2 separate regions of the Homo sapiens genome follow, and region 2 is linked to region 1. The links are contacts of gene promoters, found by promoter capture Hi-C in human tissues and cell types (Jung and others, 2019). All regions are on one chromosome and are shown on one strand. Each heading gives the region's core, a stretch centred on a gene start or on the middle of the fragment in contact. The rest is flanking DNA. Distances are from core to core; before and after follow the strand shown.

What was found. Contacts are between HindIII fragments. The study calls those that stand out against the background at their distance.
Region 2: a contact is called between a fragment that was not itself captured here and the fragment with the promoter of TRIM3 in region 1, in 1 of the 25 tissues and cell types used here (neural progenitor cells).

What each region holds. Positions count from the first base shown.
Region 1 is chr11:6,469,763-6,476,268 of GRCh38, forward strand. It overlaps TRIM3 (tripartite motif containing 3), which reads right to left and starts at 4,179. Exons shown (of 12, transcript NM_033278.4): 1 at 4,029-4,179. RefSeq lists enhancers at 2,840-3,779, 3,780-4,718 and a silencer at 4,076-4,305. The HindIII fragment of the contact is 11,464 bases long and covers 1-6,506 here.
Region 2 is chr11:6,297,728-6,304,618 of GRCh38, forward strand. No RefSeq gene overlaps it. Among named protein-coding and RNA genes, the nearest start is that of CAVIN3, 19 kb to the right of the region's middle. RefSeq lists an enhancer at 5,814-6,532. The HindIII fragment of the contact is 4,182 bases long and covers 1,064-5,245 here.

The DNA.
Region 1 (6,506 bases), core at 2,929-5,428:
GAAGCACCAATTGCTCCAGGAGTACAAAGGTTACCTAACCTAGATCTGGAGCAGGGGTGGGTCCAGAGGTTGGAGGCCAACCTTTCTCCTAAAGAAAGTAACTTTAGTAACTCCTAAAGAAAGTAACGTTCAAGCTGAGGATGAGTTACAGAGAGTATGGTGCCTTTTGCATCAGGAGGCTGAATCAGACACTGTGATGGGAGGGCTAAGAAACAAGATGGAGAGGTAGGCAAAAGATATATCATGCAATGCCTTGTTGGTCTTATTAAGGAGTTTAGACTTTACGCTTACCTGCTAGGGGATGAAGGATTTATCCAAAAAGCAAAGGAAAACTTTGGTAGTGGTGAGGGCTATTAAGTATAGAGTGACAAAAGTACATTTTTGGCTGCTATGTGGAAAATAGTTTAAAGGGCAAGGACGGAAAATTAAGAAACTGCCTTGATTAGGAGAATAGCAAAGACAGGCCAAGATAAATCAATTTTGCAGGGGGATATCAACTGAACTTGGTGGCTGGGTATTTACATGTGAAGAGTTAGGGGAGAAGAAGGAATTAACAGATGATTCTTTGGAAACTCTCAAAGAAGAGCAGTTTGGATGAGAGGGTGATAAGTTTGGTGTTTATCTTTTAAGGTTTTTTCAGTTTTGTTTTTGTTTTTTAAGAGACAGGGTCTTACTCTGTTGTCCAGGCTGGAATGTGGTGTTATGATCATAGCTCACTGTAGCCTCAAACTCCTGGGCTCAACTAATCCTCCTGCCTTGGCCTGCCAAAGCGTGGGGGTTGCAGGCATGAGCCACAGCACCCAGCTAGAGTTCACTGTTTAATGTGATGAATCTGAGGTGCCTATGGGATGTAATTCAAGTGGAGAGGTCCAGTTGGCAGTTGGAAAGATACGCTGAAGCCTAAGAGAGAGGTCTGGCCTGGAGACATGAATGTGGATGTTGGTGCAGAGATGGTTCCTGAAGCCATGGGCGTGGATGACATTACCCTGAGAGGGTAAAGAGAGAAAGGAGGGTCTATCACCAAGTCCCAAGGAACCTCAATATTTAAGAGATAGGCCCAGGAAGCAGAGTCTGCAAAGAAGATTGAGAAGGCACAACCAGAGAAGCAAGAGAATCAGGAAACAGATGTCATGAATGCCAAGGGAGAAGAGAACTTCATGAACAAGGGAGTGAAATGCTGCAGAGGTCCCATTATTTAAGCCCCAAAGAGGCTTTCATTAACCTCAGAGCATGTGGTTTTCAGGGGATGGAGGACAGGAAGCCAGATGCAGGGAGTCAAGCAAGAAGCTGATTGTGAACAAATGAAGACAGCCAGTGCTGACTCCACTAGATCCTGGACATCTGCAAAGGATGTGTTTCAAGGCTTTTCAGTTTCTCCAAATTCTCAAATAGCATTAATTTTCCCCAGGACTTCCTCCTACAATCTCACAGGATTCCCAGTACACATGAGTTACACAGTTGTGAATGGAGGTAACCAAGGCATTGTTGAAAATGGATGCGAGAGGTCAGCTAGGCTCATTTGCTTGCTAAAATAACTCACGTCTACTCACTAGCTTCCAGGTTTATCTGATCATTTGAGACCTCAAAAAAATGACAAATGACTGCAGGTTACAGTCTTTGGGCTTTCTCTGAAACAAATGAAGCCTTGGATGAGGCAAAGTCCTTAAAGCCAATGAATCCTTTAAATAAGATTAGCAGGGAAGGAAAGCAATGAAATTCATGGCCATCTCCCCCAACATTGCCAGACTGAGTAAAGTGAATGAACCATTCAATCAAACTTCTCTGGGCACACTGTGGGCCAGGTCCTTCAGCTGTGAAATAGAGACACAAAGCTGAATCAGACACACTCCCTGTCTTTCACAAGTTTTTAGACTAATGTGAGAAACAGAAATGGAAACACGTAACTACAATGTGATAAGTACCATGATATTGACATGTTCAAATTGCTACAGCAGCAAACTGGAGGAAGTACCTAACTCTGAGGATGGTACAGAATAAAGAAGGCTTCCAGAGGAAGGGGTATTTGAGCTGGGTCTTGAGAGACAAATAGGACATTGATACGTACATTGGGAAAACAGTGAGTAAAGAAACAGAAACATGAGAAACTAAGAAATATGGAACAGATGGACAAGATTGCAAATCTCCAAAAGGCAGAGGTTATACATGATGCTTTTACATCCTAAAAGCATAAAAATAAATATGCTAAAAATAAATAAATCTAAATAAATAAATAAATAAAAGGCACCACCACTCACCCACCCACACAAGCGAGAACCCTGGTAGTCTTCTCAATTACACCTTTTCTTTCACCTTTCAGATACAAGCTATGACTACATCCTCAATTCTGCCTCTGAAATTTGGCTAGGTTTAAAAAGTTAGGAGATCTAGGATCTAGTCCTAATGCTGTAACTAACTCCACTAACACAAGGTGAAACTCTAGGTAAGTTCCAACCCCATTCCCTTATTTGTAAATTGGGAGAAGAGGGATGTTTTCTCAAAATCTGAGATTCCCAAGGTTCCCTCTCAAGCCAAGGGCTTCCACAGATTGTACCATGAGCCCATGATTAAATCCCATCTTGTACTACCTCGATGATTTGACTTCTAGTTTCCACTGTTAGGCTAAATGTGTTAGAGGATGGTCTTAGTTGCCTCCCCTCCACACTCCCCCTGCCCCCTCGCCCCCGTAAATAAATGTTTGCTGAGTTTTAAGTCACCTGTGACACTCTATGAACGCTCTCTATTCTAACCATATGGTTTTTCTGCTTTTCTGAACCTGGGCTATACTATCCCAACGATGGACTCTTTGCTCAAGTTCTCTCGGCAAGAATGCCATTGTCTCCTAAGTGGCTGTGGCAGTACCTGGCACACAGGAAGTACTCAGTATATGTTGGTTACAGGAGAGCTCTGTTTAAATCTCTGCAGTTCCCTTTCATCAGAGAGAGATGCAAAAGTAATGGCAGTAACAAGACAAGTGAATAAAGTCCCAAGAAGAGAGACCTCTGCTTAATATAAGGAAGCTTTTCCACAGCAGAAAGTAGCAAGTGCTCTGTCACTGGAGGCATACAAGCCCAAGGAGGCAGGGCTACTGTCAGGCCTGCAGCTCTGATTCCAATTCTGCAGCAAATCATCCCCTGCTTAGGGGATGAATGGGCACCAGTGAGCTAGACAGACTGGCCAAGGGAGACCTGTGATGTTTTCTGCACCTGCTGTGACCTCCCAGATGTGATCTTCCTGCTAGGGCCAGTCCTGAGTTTCTGTTGTCCACATCAGAGAACCCCCACACCAAGAACAAGCCCAGGGCCTGCCCTCAGTCGAACTGACCTCCCTGGGGTGCAGCCTGCCCCTCCAACCTGCAACCATCTGTCCCTGCAGGTTTGCAGCCCAGGATCTGAAGCCAATTGCAGAAGGGAGGAGGTCAGAACCAGGGAGGGGCCTGGGGTCCTCCAGGCAGGGCTCAGGCTACAGGAGAACCAGAGGGGTCCTTTCCTACAAAAAAACAGCCTCCACATGAGGCTTTCTGTCCACAGAGCAGTGCATGGGGAGGAAAGGGTGTCCTCCATCCTGACTGGTGGGCCTGTGGGTACCAGAGGATGGAAGGGGCGGGGGGTGGGGTAGGGTGGGGGTGGGGGAGCAAGGGGTGGAGGTGTCTGCACCAGGGAGAAAAGAGCCCTTCAGACAAGATGGGCCACAATATTCCAGAGTCCCACTCAGCACGCACCACCACCACCACCCTCGGCCGCAGCGTTCAGCACCCTCCGCCAACACACACAAGCTCCCAAACCCCGCGCTCCCCTAAGGAACCATCACCCATCCACCCGCGCCTCCCCGCCTCAAAACAGGGACCTCACGTGAGCAGCCACAGCCCGAAGAATCCCCCTGCTGCTCTCACGGACATGGACACGCCTCACGTGGGCAGAGAGAGGCACAGCTTTTGAAAATCATCTGTGCCCCCACCCACAGACGCTCCGACCCAGACCCGGGCTGACAGGAATACAAACGCACCCTTGGGGCCCGCCCGTCGCACTCACCGCGTTGGAACAGGATGCGAGGGCAAAGCTCGGACTGCGGCCACTCTGAAGGGCCCGCGGCGCTGCTACTGCTGCCAGCGCCCGTCCGCCCGGCCCTGCCCGCGCCTCCGCCTGTCCCCGCGCCGGCGCCGCCGCCGGACTAGCCGCACAGGCCGGAGGGAGGGGCCGGGGCGGGGCTGCGGACCGGCCGGGGGAGGGGGTGACTCCAGTAGGGAAGACCCACCCACGCCCCGCCCGCCGCCGCGGAGGCCCCGCCCACCCCGCCTGCCCACCCCTACCGCACCCGCACGCCCCCCCGCCAACGCCTCCACCTCCTGCGGACGCTGCCTCCTTGGTGCTGCTAGGGAGCCGGCGGGCCGGCGAGCCGGATCCCGGATCTCGGATCCCGGATCTCCGCCAGCTGCCTCCGGCTCCGGGAAGGGCGGTGTAGTCGGTCTCAGGGATTGAGATGAGACTCCGTCAAGAAAAGGCAGCTGGGGCAGCAGGGATTTCGGACTCTGGGAGCCTGTCTGGGCCGCCTGCCTCCTGGAGGCGCCCTTTCCGGCTTCCTTGGAGTGCTCCTATGGAATATGCTAGTCTATCGGCTGACCAGGAAGACGTAGAAACCGTCTGTACCTCAGCACGATCTCTGGGCGGCAGAAGGGCAGTACCCAGAACTCTGGGAGAAGGAGTTAAGGGGTAGAAAGGTGGGGGATTTGATTAGGCTTTGGGCGCTTCAGGAGCCCCCTCCTGAGGAAATTCTGGTTCAGACCATCCAGCGACTCCCTTCCTCACACCAAAGACACTGGACAATTCTCAGAATCATCGCCTTGTGCAAAAAGCAGCCCCAAGTGGAAAATAATTGTAACAGTTTACAGGGACTGAGTGGTTATTATGTGCCGACACAGAACTAGCCACTTTACATATATTATTTAATAGTCAGTAGGTAGCATCTTTTATTAGCCCAATTTTACAATGGGAAAAAATAGGGATCTTGCTCCCCAGACGTTAGCCCTCATCACTCAGCTAGAAAGTGGCAGAACCTGGAGTTGAGCCCTGTTTTTAGGCCCTACAACCAGCATTTGGAGACTCGGTACCTTTCATGTTGAAAAATCCCCAGTGGCCCATTAAGTGGCAGCTCATATAAGGACCACCTTCCCTGCCCCAAAAATCAAGCTCTAGTCAGATGATTGCAGGCTGATCAAAGCCCAGAAGACTGTCTGGGAGCTGCAGTATCCATGACAAAGGGCAAAGTCATGCCTGTGAGGATCCCTGCACTATGGGAATCTGCTGAGTGGGTCTTCCCCTTCCTCCAGCCTTCCAGAGGTGGGGAAAATCCTGAAAAATTCTGGTTTCCTTGGCCAAAGGGCATACAGGTGATGACACCTAGCCCTGACTAAACCAAAGTGCTGTTAGGGATCTTTCTTGTGACCTCTCCACAAGGTTCAGATTTAGGCTCAACACCTGGGTGCAGCAGGAGCTTTGGGAACCGCCTCAACCTCTTATCCACCTGAGTTCAGCACATAGCACAAGATGCTCCAGTGCTTGTGAAGGAAACCCAGACGGGGATCATGCTTGCAGTTTTGGGCTGGGGCTACTATGCTACCCAAGATGAGGGAACTGGAGTCTAGATGACACTATCTTAAGCCTCAGAGGACTACTTTTCTCAACTCTATACTTCTCCCATGCAGTCAAATTTCTGCTTAAAACACTTCTCAGCTCCTTCTCCAGAGGGCAAAAGTCCTTAACCAGCCTGCAGTCTTCATCTAGCCACTCCCTCTTCATTTTTCATTCCAAGCAATTCCTCCCAGTTCCTACTCAGAGCCTTCATTATATGCTAGCCTCTCTGCCTGGGATGCTCTTCCCTTTACCCTGCCTGTTTGTCATCTACTCACCCTTCAGGTCTCAGCTTTTTTTTTTTTTTTTTTGAGATGGAGTCCCGCTCTGTTGCCCAGGCTGGAGTGCAGTGGCGCAATCTTGGCTCCACTGCAAGCTCCGCCTCCCGGGTTCACACCATTCTCCTGCCTCAGCCTCCCGAGTAGCTGGGACTACAGGACTACAGGCGCCAGCCACCGTGCCGGGCTAATTTTCTTGCATTTTTAGTAGAGATGGGTTTTCACCGTGTTAGCCAGGATGGTCTTGATCTCCTGACCTGGTGATCCGCCCGCCTCGGCCTCCCAAAGTGCTGGGATTACAGGAGTGAGCCACCGCACCTGGCCAGGTCTCAGCTTTCAAACTGACATCCCCATTTCCACCCCAGTCCATGCCAGATGCCCCTCCTTTGTGCTCCCACAGCGCCCTCTGTACTTCTGTATCCTAATACTTATCACTGTTTTGTAGTTGCCTGGTTACTTCTTTCCCTCAGTAGGCCCTAAGCACTGTGGGCAGGGACCGTGTTTTATTCACTGATGTTTCCCCAGGGCCTAACGCAGTCCCTGGCAAATGAAAGCACTCAGTAAATATTTGCTGTATGAATGAATGCATGATGAAGGTCAGCAA
Region 2 (6,891 bases), core at 1,905-4,404, 170 kb before region 1:
TAACATCAGGACTGTAACATAAATATGCTGCTACCATACTATGTAAAACATCATGAAATGGCCACTCTTCTAAAAGATGTAGGTAGAGAGATGGCAATGCATAGGATCTGTCCAGCTTAATTCCAGACCAGCACCAGGATCGCCAACAGGTACACCTTCTCTATCAGAGAGAATGATGTGTTCAGAGAGAACTTGTTTCACCAAAGTTTTTTCACCACTCCTTTCCTCTTGAGAGGACTAGTTCATAAAGGTCAGGAATGATAATCCATTCATTTCCTACAGTGAGACTACAAATTTGCCCAGGAACACTAGGGGGCAACCCCTGAACATAATTTACCTTTTCTCCTACTATGCCTTATTTTTCACTGGTCCAAATAACCACTGCAACTGGCAATATTTTCTTCCTGTTTAAATTACTGTTTTCTTTCTTTCCTTCTTTCTTTTTTCTGTCTTTCCTTCTTTCTTTTTTTCTTTCTTTCCTTCTCTCTCTTTCTTTTTTTTGACTGCTTTAATTTCTTGATTTTGAGACTGATTCACAGTCCCACATTCTTGTTGGTGACCTAAAGCTTCTTCTAATGATTTGACAAGATTTCCTTGGAGTGGGCAAAGATTTCTTAAGCAGAACATAAAAGCAGTAATCAATCATATGATGGCTCATACCTGGAAATCAGAGTACAGGTAAAAATGGTTCAGATTCGAAATTCTTATGTCTTGAAGCCTGACATGGTGGTTGACAGGTCCTTCTGTTTGTGCTTCATACTTTTGCTAAATTATTTTTGAAAGTTTTCTAAAGATAATCTCTGGGATAAACTTTGCCAAATAATTTGTAACCAGGAACACGAGGAACAACTGGTGAGCCTCTTTTGTCCTTTTTAGAAAAGATTTGAGACAAGCAGGGGCAGGTGGTGGTGGGCTCATCTCCAAACAGCTGTGAGAGTTAGCATTAAGGTAGTAAGCCCACCAACCTCACCCTACTTCATCCTCCCCAGTCCTCTCCGCCCAGGTGGCAGGGAGCACGCCCTCTGCTGACCAGCGCACCAGTGGCTCCAAGTACCCAGTCTTTGGCATCAGTGGCCACCAGGCTGCAGCTCTGTGAACAGCAGCTGCAGAGGAGCTTCCTGCCAGCCCAGGGAAGCCATAGCCTGTGCATGATCAGCCCCTTTTAGGAAACTAAGGTTGATTTGATGGAGCCAGTGCTGGCAAATCTGTCCAAGGAAAACCGTCCTGGTACCTGGATTTATCCAGGATCCAGCCTTGGAGGTGGTAAGGGAGGTCACTTTCGTGGCAGGCCAAGAGCCTTGAGAGGTTTTGAAAAATTCAAGAAGAGGCTGGTCACGGTGGCTCATGCCTATAATTCCAGTACTTTGGGTGGCTGAAACGAGTGGATCACCTGAGGTCAGGAGTTCGAGACGAGCCTGGCCAACATGGCAAAGGAAGGAAGGAAGGAAGATTCAAGAAGAAAGGAATTAGGCCAAAATGTATAGATACTACAGATGAAATCTTATGGAGAAATTTCCTTGGACTTACCATCTTAGCTTCAAGACAGCAAATGAATAGAAGCTTGTAAAAGATCAAGCTGAGATTTCTTAGAGAACCTCTAGCGGAAAAAACTTAAAGAAGGCCCATATGGTTAACAGTCTTGCTGCACCTGTTTAAAGAACCAGGCCGAATCTAATAAGACCATACTCATTTTGTCATCAAGAATCTTTGAGGTTCTTTGTAATAAAAAGTGGGGGGACTATAAGGAAAAAATTGTGCTTAATTTGAAAATTACGTGTTGTCATTCCAGAGCACACCTGACTTGTCTGATTCCAATTCTGTGGGAGCTGTTTTGCAGCTCTATAAAGTGTAGATAACTGGCAGCAATGCTAAATCATTCTTGTCTATAGATATGCAAATGAATGCTGTCCGGTAAAACAACAACAACAACAAAAAAAACCCCATCTGGCTGTATTTGCACAGTCATTTTAATATTCCGGATCTATAAATGTGTCTGTCCTTGGGATTCTCCTTTCACCTGGTTGTAATACTTCACTGCTTTCCTCATGAATTAGTTAAATAAAAACTTTAACTCATGTTTATTCTTATATCTGTATAAGAGTACTGATCTTACCTGTTTATGAAAATTATCTTTTAATGGCTACTTAGAACTAAATTATCCTTTAATGGCTTGTCCCCGTCTTTGTTTTAGCCACAGAGGGCCTAGAGACTTTAAGGCAAAGTATCAGAGACTTTTGAGGCAGCCCAGTCTGGCGACTTTCCCAGCAACCTAGCGCAGAAACTTTCTAGAAGCTTTATGATGACATCCCTGTTCAGAAGCACTTGGTGTTTTTTCTGTTCTATTGACTGAGGTGTCCTGACACTATTTTGGCAGACATTGTAATGTGCTGAGAAGTTGTACCAGGTATCTCATCATCAAAATGGAAATTTCAAAAGGCTGTCCTGAGTAGCCCCTGAGATTGTGCACCCCACTTTAGCGATGGCTAATATATCCTATTGTCAATGCATAGATGACGGTAATGATAATGGCTTGCTGGAAAAATGCTGAGGATACTTGTCCAGTTCAGAAAAAAGGCCTTCATCTTTCACCACAGTATATGCCCTCCTGGGTATTTATGGCTTGCTTGAGTGTGTGTAGGACCACCGTCATTATCAAAACATGTATTCCTAACAGCAGAGAGTGAGACCTTTTCTTAGGACGGTTAATAAACAAACCCAGAAGTTAATGTTACCTTGGGAACATGTCAAGTTTCTGAGTCATAAAGCCCCAAGTTAGTAGCTGGAAAGTCCATCATCAAGGTTAAGGGCATCCCCCAGAATGCTAGAATGATTTTGACAATTTGAAAAACTTTGTTTAATTATTGCTCAGGGAAGAAACATCCACAAACATCTTTGTTTAGCAGAGGACTTCTGTGACAGATGAGCCAAAGTAAGTAAAAAGAACAAAACAAGCCAGGCGAGTTGGCTCATGCCTGTAATCCCAGCACTTTGGGAGGCTGAGACAGGCGGATCACCTGAGGTCAGGAGTTCGAGAACATCCTGGCCAACATGGCAAAACCCCATCTCTACTAAAAATACAAAAAAGTTAGCCAGGCATGGTGGCACTGGCCTGTAATCCCAGCTACTCAGGAGGCTGAGGCACCAGAATCGCTTGAACCCGGGAGGCGGAGGTTTCAGTGAGCCGAGATCGGCCACTGCACTCCAGCCTAGGCGACAGAGTGAGAATCCGTCTCTGAAAAAAAAAAAAAAAAAAGAACAAAACAAATTAAAAAGTTTTACACAAGTGTGTCATTGTTAACAGTTTGATATACAGCCTATCATGACTCAGTCCTTTGTTTCTGGATCATCTAATTTAGGACAAAGCTATTTTGAGCTGGGGAAAAGAAATTTCTGGAAAATTGAGAAAATAGTGTTAGTAGAGGAAGGCTCCTTTGCAGTACCTATTGCTTTCATGAGAAGGATTTTTCCCTAAACCCTCTGACCCTAGGTCTTATGCCTCTCAAGTGAATTGCCTGACTTGAAAGGGGAACTGGGTGTGTGTGGCCCAGCCCTGTCCTCCTGCCCTCTTTCTCTCCCTCTGGGAATCTTCCTATCTACAGAGCGGTAGTGCTGATGGCTGCTTGACTCTGGTTTTTCAGGTCAGACTATAACTTGGCAAATCTCTCTGATACCAGAGGAGTTCAGGATTGGGAAGTCTACTGTTGCCACATACTTCTATTCCAACTTTATTAGGGAACAGAGATGCTATTTATCGGGCTACCACCCCAATATTTATTATCAATGTTTCTTTAGAAAATTGCCTGGGGGCTTTAGGTTCTGGCAGTCATCATACAGGGAGTTACAGTGTCATTTAAGGGTATCAAATTAGAAAACAGCTGTGGAAAATTATGTGAAAACCCAATTTCCACGGACACTGTGGACATGGTGATTGTGGATGTGTAATGAACAGGGCCCATGATAAGAATGTAATTGAACAATGCTTTTCCACATTCAGCACATCCAGAATCTCAGAATCCTTTACATAATTCAGAATGTATCTTGCCAGAACAAGAGAGACCACATCATAAATGTGAATTCTAAATACACAGCTCTTTTTAAAATCTACCATGACTAATTATAACTGTTGGCTCAACAGATGTACCCCCACTCCATCACCCTTCTTTTTGGAAACACAATACCACTAAGAGCCCCTGCAAGATATCCTCCTGATGGGTCTAAAAAGCCCTCTGCTGACAAGTACCGCCTGAGAATGAGTCTTACACACCTGCTCGGCAGGCTGTGCACATCTCAAATATTCAGGGAAGCAAGGAGGAAGGGGTATGGCCCTCCAGGGTGCTGCTGTCAAGCACCGTAGCAGAGTAACCTACTGGAATTACTTGTAAAACCATCCCCACAAAAGCAAAAATCCATATGCTGCCTCTTGTCGTTCCAGAGGCAATAGTTAAGTTGTACACACGGAAAAGACCCAAATTCGGGGTTGTCGCTTCCTGATCATTTTTGTCCTTTTTTGTAACTGTGCCACCCAAATGAGCAATGAGCAATATACCAAAAACCCGAGGCTGTCCACATGGCAAGATCTGATCCGAGTTCCATTCCAATGTTGTTCAAAGGTGATTGTTTTCCAGGGTTGTAGTCTCTTACAGCCATAGGGGGATGGAGGGCAACAATCACTGAACTCAAAGGCAGCCCTGGTTCCTTTGATCACTGCGAAGCCATCTAGGAAGTAGCTCCTGACAGACCCTTCCCTCCCTGGAAGGCGCGGCCTGCTAGATAACCCCTCAACTGCAGGCCAAATAGCACAGTATTTGGATGGAGAGGAGGCTCCATTAGAGGGGTGATAGAGGCAGCTCTCTTTCTGGTAAAAATTAAAGCTTATATAGGGCCATAAGGATGAATGGAAGCATAACATACTGAAAGTGGTCAGTGTCTTGTGTTTTATTTTCCTTATCTGCTCAGGGCTGTTGTTTTGAGAGCTGGCCCAGGACCCACATAATGCTGGCTCAGAGCCATATTAAAAGATATGAGGAGTCTCCCCTTATTTTCCAGAAAAGCCTTAGCTTCTGTAAACTTCAGGGAAGATTAAAGAGTCCATGAGGTAGCTGTCTAAGGTTTTGCCCATATGCCCAAGAGCTTCCCACTGTAGATCGTGTTAGCCACCTCAATCCCCAACCCCCAACCTCAGATAATCGAAGTCCACAGGACATGTTGATGCCCATTACCTGACCAGAAAAATGCTTTCTTTGTCCTGTGTTTAACTCTATTTTTTTTTCTTTTTCTTTTTTGAGATGGAGTCTTGCTCTGTCACCCAGGCTGGAGTGCAGTGGCACAATCTCGGCTCACTGTAACATCTGCCTCCCAGGTTCAAGTGGCTCTTCTGCCTCAGCCTCCCAAGTAGCTGGGATTACAGGTGCCCACCAACTTGCCCAGCTAATTTTTGTATTTTTAGTAGAGATGTGGTTTCACCATGTAGGCCAGACTGGTCTCGAACCCCTGACCTCAGGTGATCCGCCCACCTCAGCCTCCCAAAATACTGGGTTTACAGGCGTGAGCCACCATGTCCGGCCTACCTCTATTCTTTCTAATAGTTCTTGTTAACTTTGATAACATGTCTGCAATAAGCTTTGAATTACTGTAATGTTTGAAATGTACACTGGGAGAGTTCCTATATACAACTCAGCTGCCATCCATACCATGAGAATAGTGATTTGTTTGGCTTTTCTTTAACCCATTAGAGTTGAACAAAATATTCAAGACTCACTTCTGTTTTTTTCAGGAGTCTCTGAATATCCCCTCTTGACCACCTTCTGGGGTATTAAATTAAACAGAAACAAAATTTATGGAAACATTCAACAGCCCTAATGATCTATAAGCCTTTGCCAGTGCTTAATCTGTTCCAGAGGTATATCTACCTCCTCAAATCACTCTTAAGGGGCCCCAGGTACCACCCAGCTTCTCCTAAGCATTTTAGTACTTTTCCCTGTCGCAGAAGCCTTCTCTGCCCCCTCCGCTTTGTCCTGCCTACACTGAACAAATCACCAAACCAGGCACTATGGACAGTGACTTGGCTGTACAGGTGCCCTTTGCATAACAATGATGTTCGTGAGAGGCATGACTCTTAAGCCGACATGAGTCTCTGTGACTTTAAATCCTCCTTGTTCCTTTCAGACAAACTGCTGACAAGCCTGGTCAGCATGCACTGACCTGAATGCCCTTTTCTACATCATTAAACCCCTTTTTAACTTCCCGCTGTGGGGATGATGTGTGTCTGCACCGGATCCACACTATGTTTCTTCCCCCTTTCTGTTTAATCACACCTAAATCAAAAGCAGAAAATCACAGTTAAAGCTAATTTGTATCATATTAAATATTAAAATCCATATTAAAATTAATGACATGGTGATATGGTGAGACCCCTTAATAACACTACCATGTGACAGTTTTCTATTTTCACTTACTATTGCTATTAACTTCGTGTTGGCATCAGTTGTTCTCTACAGGTGACAAGTGCATTTGATAGCAGCATATATATGTAAATAACTTACGAATGACAAAATTTTTATAATTTTTTTAAAAATACAAAATTAAACCCTCTAAAAAACTAATTTTTAAGATATCTCTGAAAAATACACAGATATATACGTACTCCTACCCTTTTGTGTCTTACCCTAAAAATTACTCTTTGCAAATAATCTTATAAGCTTTCACTCCCTTTTATTTTGCTTTGCTGGTGGCTCTGATGGTATATGTTCACTGGTGCCTTTTTGGGGGAACATTCCAGAACCCTGTTCTATTATACCACAGACACAGAAAGGTGTTCTGATAATGAGTACTAGTATTTTGGAAAATAAAACAAAAAACAAAATTTCACCACATCCTTGTGAGAATATTTCT